Regions from separate parts of the Homo sapiens genome. Here regions 2 and 3 are each linked to region 1. Evidence: promoter capture Hi-C in 16 types of primary human blood cells and fetal thymus (Javierre and others, 2016). All regions are on one chromosome and are shown on one strand. The core of a region is centred on a gene start or on the middle of the fragment in contact, and the rest is flanking DNA. Distances in the headings are between cores, read along the strand shown.

Region 1 (3,656 bases), core at 678-3,177:
CCACAAACTCGTTGTGTGACTGTTGGCAAGTTAACCTCTCTATGCAACTTCCTAACCTGTAAAATTAGCATAATACTTCCTACTTCTCAAGGCTGTTATAAAGATTCAAAATCTGGTATATGTAATGACCTTAGCACACCTCTCTCTATATATACACAGATACATACATATATATACACACATACACATACATACATATATATACACATACATATATGTATGTGTATATATATGTATGTATGTGTATATATATATATATATATAGTAAATGCTCCGAAACACCATTGCTGAACCTGGGGATACATGGTTTAAAACTTGTAAACAAAAGAATCCTAGGGAAATCACTATTGCCCCATCAGCTAATTAGAGTATATATATTCCTTGAGGTAGGGTCCCCAAGTTCTCTATTTTTTTTTTTTTTGAGACGGAGTCTTGCTCTGTCGCCCAGGCTGGAATGCAGTGGTGCGATCTCGGCTCACTGCAACCTCCGCCTCCAGAGTAGCTGGGATTACAGGCGCCCGCCACCACGCATGGCTAATTTTTGTATTTTTAGTAGAGACGGGGTTTCACCATCTTGGCCAGGCTGGTCTTGAACTCCTGACCTCGTGATCCACCCGCCTCCGCCTCCCAAAGTGCTGGGATTACAGGCGTGGGCCACCGCGCCCGGCCTGTATTTTGTATTCTTAAAACCACCTAGGGCAGTACAAGACACAAGGAACTAGACACTTACTGGTTTTGAGAGTAAGTGGACAATGTTGGAGCAGGATAGGGGAGACCTGTCATTCGTGCAGTGCCACCGTGTAATCCTATACTTTGTGTTTACAGGATTTTACAGTGCACCTGGAACTTTTGTGTACCACACATCATTAACACAAAATTAACATGGTGGTATGAGCTGGGAAGGTTAGCTATCGCTTCATTTTGCGCGTAAAACAGAGGCTTAGCCCTGGGAAATGGAAGTTTAAAGCCTCCTGCTGCTCCAGGTTCCAACCACCACCACTCCTACCCCCATGAGCGGCCGCTGCTCTCACCCGCTTCTTCTCCTCCACCTCCTGCACACACTTCACCCTCCAGCGGTCAATCTCCTGCTCGCGTTCCACTGCCCGCGCGGCCTCTGCCTCCCGCTCGGCCTCGCGTTCCCGGGCCCTCTCGCGAAGCCGCAGCCGGCGGCGCCGGACCCTCTCCAGCCTCCTCCGCGCCTCGCCCACATAGGCAGCCTGGGTCAACGGCTGTAGCCGCTCGGCCAGTTCCGCGCGCAGCGGCGCGGTCTGGGAGTACAGCAGGACCCAGGCCGCGCCGTCGGCTTCGGCCTCGCGCAGGGCCTGGCTCAGGCCGCGCAGCCGCCGCACCAGGCGCAGAGCCCGGAGCAATCGCGCGCGCACTTCGCCAAGGCTGGGCCCGGCATGCGTGCGCTGGGGCACCGGACAGCCTGCCCGCCGCGGGGTCCCGAACACCGCCTCCAGCCACTGCCGGTCGCGCAGGCGTTGGAGGGCCGCATCCCCGAGCACGTCGGCCGGCGGCGGCGGCGCCTCAGGCCACCGCGGGCTCCAGGGCGGCCCCGGGCCGGGAGGCGGTGGCCGCGGCCGCTCGCCGGCGTCGGTCCCCGGGAAGGGCCGACACTGGGGCGGCGGAGGAGGCAGCGGCGGTGGTGGCACCGGGTAGAAGGCGCCAGCGCCGCCTCCGCCGCGGGAGGCCTCCGCGGAGGCTCGGGGCTGCAGAGCCAGCGGAGGCTGAAGGAAGGGGGCGGAGGCCCCCGGAAAAGGGCCGGGCCGCTGGGGGAGAGGCGGCGGGAAAGCCGGGGAGGGCAGCGGCGGTGGCGGACAGCCGAAAGGAGCAGGAGGCGGCGGCTGCGGGGGCGGTGGGCCTGGGCGACCCTGGCCGAAGAATGGTGGCAGGGCCATGTTCACGACGGAGATGCTTTGAGAAGTGACAGGAATCTGAGTGGCTCCTCATGAGAACCTTCCGACGGAAGTGACGTCGTTACGACGCGCGACCCCTGTAGACTCGTCCCTCCGGAAGGCTCAGTGCATAAGTGGGCAGTCGTTCAACCTTCTGTCGTTCAGTTCATAAATACCGTTCTTATTGAGCATCCTAGGTGCAGAGCTACCCACTCCGCATACAGTGAGACTGAGAGATACAGAGCTTCTCTTCGTGGAACTATCTGCCTAGTATAACACACTAATCAATTAATCATGGTGAGTATCTTCGAGAAGTTGGAGAAGGTTATCCTAAGAAACTGCGGCTGCAGCTGAGATCTGGAAGATAAATAGTTAAATAGAAAAAGAGAGGGAAGCACAGTGCAGATGAGAACATGTGCAAAGGCCCTAGTAAATAGGAGTGTGACCAACTACCCATTTTCTTAGAAAAATGAATTATTTTTACTTTTCTCCTTTCACCCCACCTCCTATTTAGCTCTTTAGGAATGCAATTATAGGGTGGGTGCTGTGGCTCACGTCTGTAATCCCAGCACTTTGGGAGGCCGAGGCAGGCGAGATCGGCCTGTAGTCCCAGCCATTGGGGAGGCTGAGGTGGGAGGATCACCTGAGCCCTGGGAGGTAAAGACTGCAATGAGCCACGATAACGCCACTGCACTCCACCCTGGGCGACAGAATGACACCTGTCAAAAAAAAAAATCCAATTAACCTTTACCTTCTCTCCACCAGACACTCTCTACACTGTAAGCTTATCTAATTATGTGTTCGCTTATTAGTTCCAAGGACCGAAGCTTAAACCAGGGACCTCTGGAACTTTCCCATACCAGGGGATTGCCTGGGGACAACTGTCAATTTACAACCTAGCTCCCCGCTACCCCCCACCCCCCCTCCGCCTTCGCCCCAGCCTCCATGGCGCCAACCAGATCACTGATGGATACATAGGAGCAAGTCCCATAGACCCAGCACCTCCTTGGTCCCTCCCCACCCCTTGCATGCCATCCAGGTCAACCAAGTCCCGTGCACCCCCCACTTTTTTTGAGACAGAGTCCCTCTGTCACCCAGGCTGGAGTGCAATGACGCACTCTCCACTCACTGCAACCACTGCATCCCAGGTTCCAGTTATTCTTGGTGCCTCAGCCTCCCTAGTCAGTTGCTGGGATTATAGACCCCTGCTGCCACGCCTGGCTAATTTTTGTGTTTTTAGTAGAGAGGGGGTTTCACAATGCTGGCTAGGCTGGTCGTAAACTCCTTACATCAGGTGATCCGTCCACCTTGGCCTCCCAAAGTGCTGGGGTTACAGGTGTGAGCCACCACACCTGGCCACTTTCTTTCTTTTTTTTTTTTTATGAGACAGAGTCTCCCTGTGTCGCCCAGGCTGGAGTGCAGTGGCGTGATCTTGGCTCATTGTAAGCTCTGCCTCCTGGGTTCATGCCATTCTTCTGCCTCAGCCTCCCGAGTAGCTGGGATTACAGGTGCCCACCACCATGCCTGGCTAATTTTTTTGTATTTTTAGTGGAGATGGGGTTTCACCATGTTAGCCAGGATGGTCTCGATCTCCTGACCTCATGATCCGCCTGCCTTGGATCATGTTGGGATTACAGGCGTGAGCCACCGTGCCCGTGGCAGTCACTTTCTTTTTACCATTCTCTTACTTGTTATTTGAATTTGCAAGCTGCAGGGAACTGGACCTGCCTTAGGTTACAGGACTATGTCTAGTGGGAA
Region 2 (3,656 bases), core at 714-3,213, 1.9 Mb before region 1:
AACAATCCACACTGTTCAGATCATGGCTGAAGCCACGTTCAGAGGCTTGCTCAAGGACTGGCTTGGGCAAGAGGGCTCAGCCTGTGCCAGAGGGCAGAATCCTTCTTCATTAGGGGCAGACACTGTGACTTTGAACTCATTAGAGCTTTGTTCCTATCTAGTGGACTCTAGGAATGAGACATTCCGTAAGCAGCAGCAGCAGCAGCAGCAGCCCTCTGGCTACTGTATGATCAATCAGTTAATGATGACACATTTCATCTTTTACCCGCATAGAAAATGAAGGCCAATTCTAGGGCCAACTAAGTCTTCTGCCACAATGCAACTGAGAATGGATTATCAGTGGCACTGTTCCTAAAGTCACAAGGCACACAGTATGTGTCCTTAGAAAAGCCTGCTGGTTTGTTCAACTAACTGTCCACGGTTTTTCCCCCCCCCCCTTTTCTTATTCCACTAATGGTGGAGTCCACTGGTTCCCTTAATAACCTCTAGCCTTCCAGAAGGTGTTTCCTTATAGCTAAGGTAAATGTCTGGACCAGTGGTTCTCAAATACTTTGGTTTCAAGACCCCTTCATCCTCTTAAAACTTATTGAAGACTCCAAGAAGCTTTTTTTCATGTGGGTTTTACCTGTCGGTATTTGACATATTAGAAATTAAAACTTCGAAGGGAGAACAACAGATGAGAGACACAGAGCCCTGGCAGGGTGGACTCCTAGTCCCACACCTTCTTAGCCTTTTGCTTCCACATTACCTGAACCAGTCAACACCCCTTTCACAACAGCTAATCCGGTTGGGTTTCTGCCACTAGCAAATGAAAGGGGACTGAACAATACATCCACAAAACAGAGAATTAGCCTAAGACAATAAATAATAAAGGATTAACTTGAGTATAACAGAATGCTGTTTCCTCCCTATATTCGTCATCAATTAAGTGAGAGCCTACTGAAGAGTAATGAATATTACCATCACTGCTAACAGTGCCTTATGGGTTTCAAAGAACTTTCACATTTAGTATTTAAGTTTCACTGGAACCCTATGAAGTATCTTGTTTCATATCCATTTTACAGATGAGAAAACTGAAATGTCCAGTGCCTGTGTGACTTGTCACAGCGGTTTTGCAGCAGAGCCAAGACTAAATTCAAATCTTACTCTCTAAATTCCCGTGGCCCGCCTCACAGGATGCTTGCAGTTTCATGGGGCACAGACCTGTAGCACAAGACTTCCCAGATTTAAAAATCCATCCTCCTGCGAGGAGAGGGGAGCGATCAGCGTAGCAGATTCTCTAAATACTCATTGTATTTGGCTCTGGTCTGTGTGGCGTGAAGAAGGGGGCACGAGTGAGGTTCGAGTTAGCATGGTAACCATTCTTTCTCAGCTCTGTGACTGAGGGGCTGCGGGAGGGGGTTATAGTGGTGCTGGGCATGGCCTCGGGGAGAAGCTGGATAATGCCCTCTGCAGATAACCCGTAGGCTGCGCCACAGCAGCGCCAAGGAAAGAAAGCATCTCTGCTCCAGGTCTCGGCGGAAGAGATGCGGGAACTACGGGGCTCTGATTCTGAGGTCCTGGATTTGGAAGGCGTCTGCACACAAAGAAATAACAAAGTTAAGTTCCCGCGGCTCGACCAGCAGAGTACGAAACGGGGCCTCCCTTCCCAGCTCGGGTGGAAACGCCTCCACCCTGTCACCCCGCCCATAGCAGGTCTTTTATCCGCTGGAGCCGCCTGGACAGTCCTCGCGGGGCACGCCCGAGGCTCCCCGGAGGAACTACAAGTCCCATGAAGTCCCGGGGCGCGGGCGGTGATGACGAAGCCCTCGCCGATTGGCCGCACGGGGCGGGGCGCGCAGGCCTTCTCCGAGAGGAGGGGCGGGGCGTGGGGCGGGGCGAGCAGCGGCGGATTGGCGGGCACGCCCCCTCGCCCGCGGCCCCCTCCCCGCCTCTCTCCACCGCCTCCTCTGGCTCCCCGGTCAGAGGGCCGGAGCGAGAAGATGGCGAAGACGTACGATTATCTCTTCAAGCTCCTGCTGATCGGCGACTCGGGGGTAGGCAAGACCTGCCTCCTGTTCCGCTTCTCAGAGGACGCCTTCAACACCACCTTCATCTCCACCATCGGTGAGGGAGGGGCCGCGGCCCGGGACCGGGTAGAGAATTGGGGGGCGGGTACTAGGGGACGGGGAAAGGGCGGGGGGCGCTTGGGAGCCCGGGAGAGGAGACCCCGGGGACTGCAAGGTGGCGGGGGCACTGAGAGGGGCGAGGGCGTGAGGGAGAGGGGCGAGGGCGTGAGGGAGAGAGGCGAGCGGGAACGTGAGGCTAAGGGCGAAGGGGGAACTTGGGGGCAAAGGAACGGGAAGGGGAACAGAGGAACAAGGACTAGGGGTATTGGGGGAACGAGAGGGTTCGGAGACTGACAGGGAGGGGTCTTTGAGGGACAAAATGTGTTGGGGGGAAGACTCAGGAAATCTCATGTAGAGAGAAGGGGATAGTGGACGTGCCAATGATTAAAAGACAGGAGAGGAAGGAAATGTGAAGGGGGAAATGAGGGATGGGGGCAATGAGAGGGATGTGAAGTAAAGGGACAGAGGACACAAGGGACAGAGAGGTGAGAACCAGGCAACTGGAAGGGAATTCAGGGGAATGAGCGGTCAGGAGGTGAGGAAGAAGGGGACGGCTGGCCACAGGAGGTCTGGACTGAGATGTCGTAGGAGGGGACAGAAGAAAATTGTAGGTGGAAGAAGAGTTCAAGGGATCAGAGGGCAGAATGAGGATACTTGATGGAGAAAGTAAAGGGATCTGGGTGTGAGACAGAAAGGAAAAGAGGAAGCAACATCATAGTAAAGGGAGGTTGAGCAGAGAAGACAGAGGAGATGGAAAAGAGAGGAAATGGAAAGTAGTGGGGCGCAAGACTTGCTATAGTAACTGATTACCATTTTCTCTTCACTTCCTTTGGATCAAGTGCAGGAGAAAGCAAAATGTGACTAATGATGGAATAATGTCTATAGAGCGTTAATTTGTTCTGTGAGTGTTAATGGATGTTAAGGGAATTGGTGACTTTTGGAAATGATGTGGTCAGGAAAATATGGTTCACCTCTTTACTACCATCTCCTGAGAAGCAAGACTTCTCAGTATTTTAAATCCTTCGGTTTGAATGTTTAACAGCTTCTCAGCCAAGGAAATGAACTTACATTCTACCTGCCTCCCTGTATATTTTGCTTTGGTTCTAATTATTGTTAAGTGAATCACAACATGTGATATACCTCTCAGTTACTTCCAATTGAATCAAGAGTTTTTCTGATCCTGGCTGGGAGCTGTCCTTTCTACTTTTGTACTGGAAGACACTGTGTTCAGGTAATAAGATCTCTTAACTTATCATAAACTGAAGACCAAGTCAAAGCTGGTTTTAAGCTGTTTTAGAAGTGACCACCTTAACATCATTTCTCCTGTTAAATAGTTGCAGGTTAATTAAGTACCTTAAGAATACCTCAGCTTTTGGTTGTGTTGGTGATGTTTCTGGCCTCTAATAGTGGCTTATTTAGTCATCTTTCGTATGGTTCTTACAGCATATTTCACCATGAATTTCTGGGTTGGGAAATAATAGAGAGCTAGTGCTTTGGTAATACGTGTGTTTAAATATTTGTGTATTTTTAAGGATAATTTATCTTTTT
Region 3 (3,656 bases), core at 591-3,090, 1.0 Mb before region 1:
AGGCTGCAGTGAGCAGTGATTGCACCACTGCACTCCAGCCTGATTACCAGAGTGAGACCCTGTCTCAAAAAAAAAAAAAAAAAAAAAAAAATTTAAAAGAAAGTTCTCCTCATATTACTCCCCACACTAACATTCTTCCACAGCACTGCACTATTAAAATTCTTCATTTATATTTAAAACCTTCAGTATCCAACTGCATCCCACTACCTAGAACAATGTTCAACCACATCTTCACATTTAACCACAAACCCTATCCTATAGCCCCATCTATCTGTCATTTCCTATCTTCTTACCTCCATGCTTTTAAGTTTCCTCTTAGTATGCCCTCTGACCCTCTACATATCTAGATCCTAATTATTCTTTGAGGCCCAACTCAAGTGGCTCCTTCTCTTTATTTCAAAGTCTTTCTAGATCCCCTCAGTCAGAGACTAGTATCTCCCTTTCTCTGAATTTCTGTATCTCTTATTCAGTCTACAGCCTTCTATTACATACTCTATTTTTGCATATATGGGTTTCCTTCAATATCAGTTTGAAGACTAGAGTCACTCTCTTCCAAAGTTGTATCTCCAGTGCCCTACCATCCCTAGATTATGTGGACAGAGATCTGGCAGGACAGGGATGTGGTCTGCTTTGTGGAGATCATTTTACTCACAATTATCATCTGCCTGGAGGCTGATTAGGTAAGTCCTGCCTCTAGTAAGAGAGGTCAACCAAATTAGCTCCCAGAGTATTTCCTAACCCTGGCTTCCTTCTACTGGCCTATAATCCTTACTTGAATTATATTTGTATTCTATGGTTAGATCTCTCAATATTATATCCAGTCTTTTCGGTTTTCAAAAACAATACAACATAATTAAAAAAACAAACAAACAAAAAGTTGTAAGGCAATTGTGAAGTGGTGGAAAGTGCATTACGGTTAGAACCAGTAGGCACAGCCTTTGCTTTTTGGCTCTGTTCCTTACTGGCAGTGTGACCTCCAGGTAGTTCTTTAACCTTTGTTTCCTCATTTGTACAATAAAGATGGCCCCAAGGGTTAAACAGAAAATATTTAATATGCAACATGGAAGAGTGTGTATGTGTGTGTGTGCGTTATGTGTGTGTACACAAGGCCTTGCTACAAGAAGCCAATCTCGTTCTCTTCTTTCGGGGACCTCTGCTTACTGACTTTGCCGGATAGAGTGGCTGTGACCTTGGGCCAGTCCCCAACTCGACTGTCACCCACAAGCGCCCTCAGCGGTAGCAAGAGTGCGTGTCCAGGAGCTAGAGAACGAGGCTCTAGTAGTGCAATCAGGCCAGCTTTGCTTCCTAACCAGGCACCCTAGACTTGTGGTCTCCCCACAAGTCTTGGAATGGTTACTAAGACGTAGGCCACACGTGGAGAATGAAGCTTTTAAGACCTCTGGGTTCGGCTTGCCCCAGGTTTACGAAGAGCCCAGTTCCCAGAAAGACCCACACCCCCCACGTGACTTAGGACCCCGAAGAAAGCGCCTGCTACGCCCCGGACAAGATCTGGCCAAAAACAAACAAACAAACAAACAAAAAAAAAGGTCTCCCCTCCCAGCCCTCAGGTGAGGCCATCATCCCCGCACCCCTCAGCTCCGGCCTGCACCTATAACGCCAAATGCTGTGCTGGGTAAAATTAATTACCATAAACTTCTAGCGCTTTCTCTTCCATGATCCGGGGCTGCCGGGCAGCTCCCGGCTCAGAGAGGCCGGAGAGCCACAGGACTCTGCTCAGCGTCCAGGAGAGCAGCCCGGACACCCGCTGCATCTTCACGCTCAGCCATCCCTGGCGACTGTCCCAATCGCGCCACCGTCTCTCAGCAGCCTCGGGATTGATCAACTTCCTGGTCTTCAAATGGGCCGAGACAAGCCTAAAGGTTCAGGAGAGCAGAGAAAAGGCGGGGCCAGACGGAGTAGCTCGAAGGACCTAGGGAAGGGGCCTCAAGGACTACAAGTTCCAGCGTGCTTTGCTCGATTTCGGCGGGACAAAAACAATCTTCGCGGCTCGTCAGCACATTGCATGCTGGGATGCGTGAGCTATTTTCTTCGGAAGGCAGCGAATTGTATTCTGGGACTTGTAGTGTCCGCCTGGTAGAAGTGGATGTAACGGTCTGTTAACCGCGACTGACTCACTCAGTATCCGTGATAAGTTAAAGATGAATCCTGAAGGGGTAGGGGAAAGGAGATCTTGAGTTCTCCAGCACGGAGACTCTTTACAATTATTTCTCCGCGGGATCCGCTGACAGCCAACGTCTTTCTTACTTCCTGATCGGACAGGAAGTAGGTTTCAGTTGCTGTGAAAAGGGATGTCATGGGAAGCCAGTGAGGTAGTCAGGTATGGCATGGGGAGGGCTTTTTGGCTTTCTCGTCTCCTAAGGGACTCAGTCCAGCACAGCTTCCCACCTTTGAACGAATATTTCTGCTAATGGCCTCCAAAGACAACTTAGAACATAAGTTTTCCCGTGTCTAATGTGTACAGTGGTGACATAATGGAGATCGCCATCCTTAAAAGTGTATCTTGGCCGGGCGCGATGGCTCACGCCTATAATCCCAGCACTTTGGGAGGCCGAGGCGGGCGGATCACCTGAGGTCAGGAGTTCGAGACCAGCCTGGCCAACATGGGCAAACCCCGTCTCTACTAAAAAATACAAAAATTAGCTGGGCGTGGTGGCAGGGGCCTTAATCCCAGCTACTTGGGAGGCAGAGGCAGGAGAATCGTTTGAACTCAGGAGGCAGAGGTTGCAGTGAACCAAGATCGAGCCATTGCACTCAAGCCTGGGGGAGAAGAGCGAGACTTCCCTCAAAAAAAAAAAAAAAAAAAAAAGTGTATCTTAAGCCCTCTGGTGTTCGTGGGTGTGATGGATGCCAGTAACAAAATCGATTTTATTTTATCCATCCATCCCTCCGATCAAATTTGTAGGTACTAATTTGCCATAGGTGATCCATAGGCATGGAAGATACAAAGATAAAACGCTGCCCCCGCCTTCAAACAGCTCACATGACCTGTGAGGGAGTCCATCCCTGAATTTGCAGTTACAACCAAACTAACTAAACCTCTTGTCAAAGTTGGTGACAAATGCCATTTCTATTGAGAAGATAGGATTATCTTGCAGAATTGTCCCATGCTAACATGCCCATTTATCTTTAAACTCCAGTCTTGTTTGTCTAGTTAATGTAGGCCTTAGGATCACCAGACAATGAATTGCTTAGGTCCCAAGGAAATTTTGGTCAGGGTTCAATAATTTCCCTGCCGTCTATTCCACTCCACTTACTCCACAGCAATTGAGAGGATAATCCTAACATTTTTCCAGCCAAATCTAGGACACTGAGGCCTCACTTCATCTGTGAGGCCTCCCTACTTCTCCAAGCAGAATTGATTATCTCTTTCCCTGTGCTCCCACAGGGCACCATAGCATTGAACATGTCGAACTGTCGATTAAATACCTGATTTCTGTATCTGAAACTCACAGCAAGGTGCCAGGCATACAGTAGATGCTCAGTATCTGTATTTCTTAATGAATTAACTGAATGTTGCTCAAGGAATAAGTGGTGAAGCTTTCTTCTAGTCTTGTTCAGATACCTCAATCGAAATATTTATTGACTCTCTGTGAGGGCATTGTGCTTGGCATGGGTAGATGGCATGTAGAGGTTTT

The links. The method cuts DNA at HindIII sites, captures the fragments that hold promoters and counts their contacts. A CHiCAGO score of 5 or more calls a contact.
Region 2: a contact is called between the fragment with the promoter of RAB8B here and the fragment with the promoter of PDCD7 in region 1, in 2 of 17 cell types (naive CD8 T cells and fetal thymus). The highest score is 11.1, in naive CD8 T cells.
Region 3: the fragment with the promoter of CIAO2A here is called in contact with the fragment with the promoter of PDCD7 in region 1 in 5 of 17 cell types (naive CD8 T cells, total CD4 T cells, fetal thymus and 2 more); the score reaches 13.7 in naive CD8 T cells.

The regions. Positions count from the first base shown.
Region 1 is chr15:65,131,881-65,135,536 of GRCh38, forward strand. PDCD7 (programmed cell death 7) reads right to left here and starts at 1,928. Exons shown (of 5, transcript NM_005707.2): 1 at 1,032-1,928. The coding sequence starts at 1,901. RefSeq lists silencers at 1,154-1,553, 1,614-1,823 and an enhancer at 2,114-2,213. The HindIII fragment of the contact is 3,462 bases long and covers 1-2,680 here.
Region 2 is chr15:63,187,643-63,191,298 of GRCh38, forward strand. RAB8B (RAB8B, member RAS oncogene family) reads left to right here and starts at 1,964. Exons shown (of 8, transcript NM_016530.3): 1 at 1,964-2,106. The coding sequence starts at 1,983. LOC101928972 (a long non-coding RNA gene) reads right to left here and starts at 1,789. Exons shown (of 4, transcript XR_932355.4): 1 at 1,204-1,789. RefSeq lists an enhancer at 1,389-1,538 and a silencer at 1,719-2,048. The HindIII fragment of the contact is 3,523 bases long and covers 602-3,656 here.
Region 3 is chr15:64,091,998-64,095,653 of GRCh38, forward strand. It overlaps CIAO2A (cytosolic iron-sulfur assembly component 2A), which reads right to left and starts at 1,841. Exons shown (of 5, transcript NM_032231.7): 1 at 1,648-1,841. The coding sequence starts at 1,771. RefSeq lists enhancers at 916-1,478, 1,114-1,163, 1,524-2,253. The HindIII fragment of the contact is 2,171 bases long and covers 1,386-3,556 here.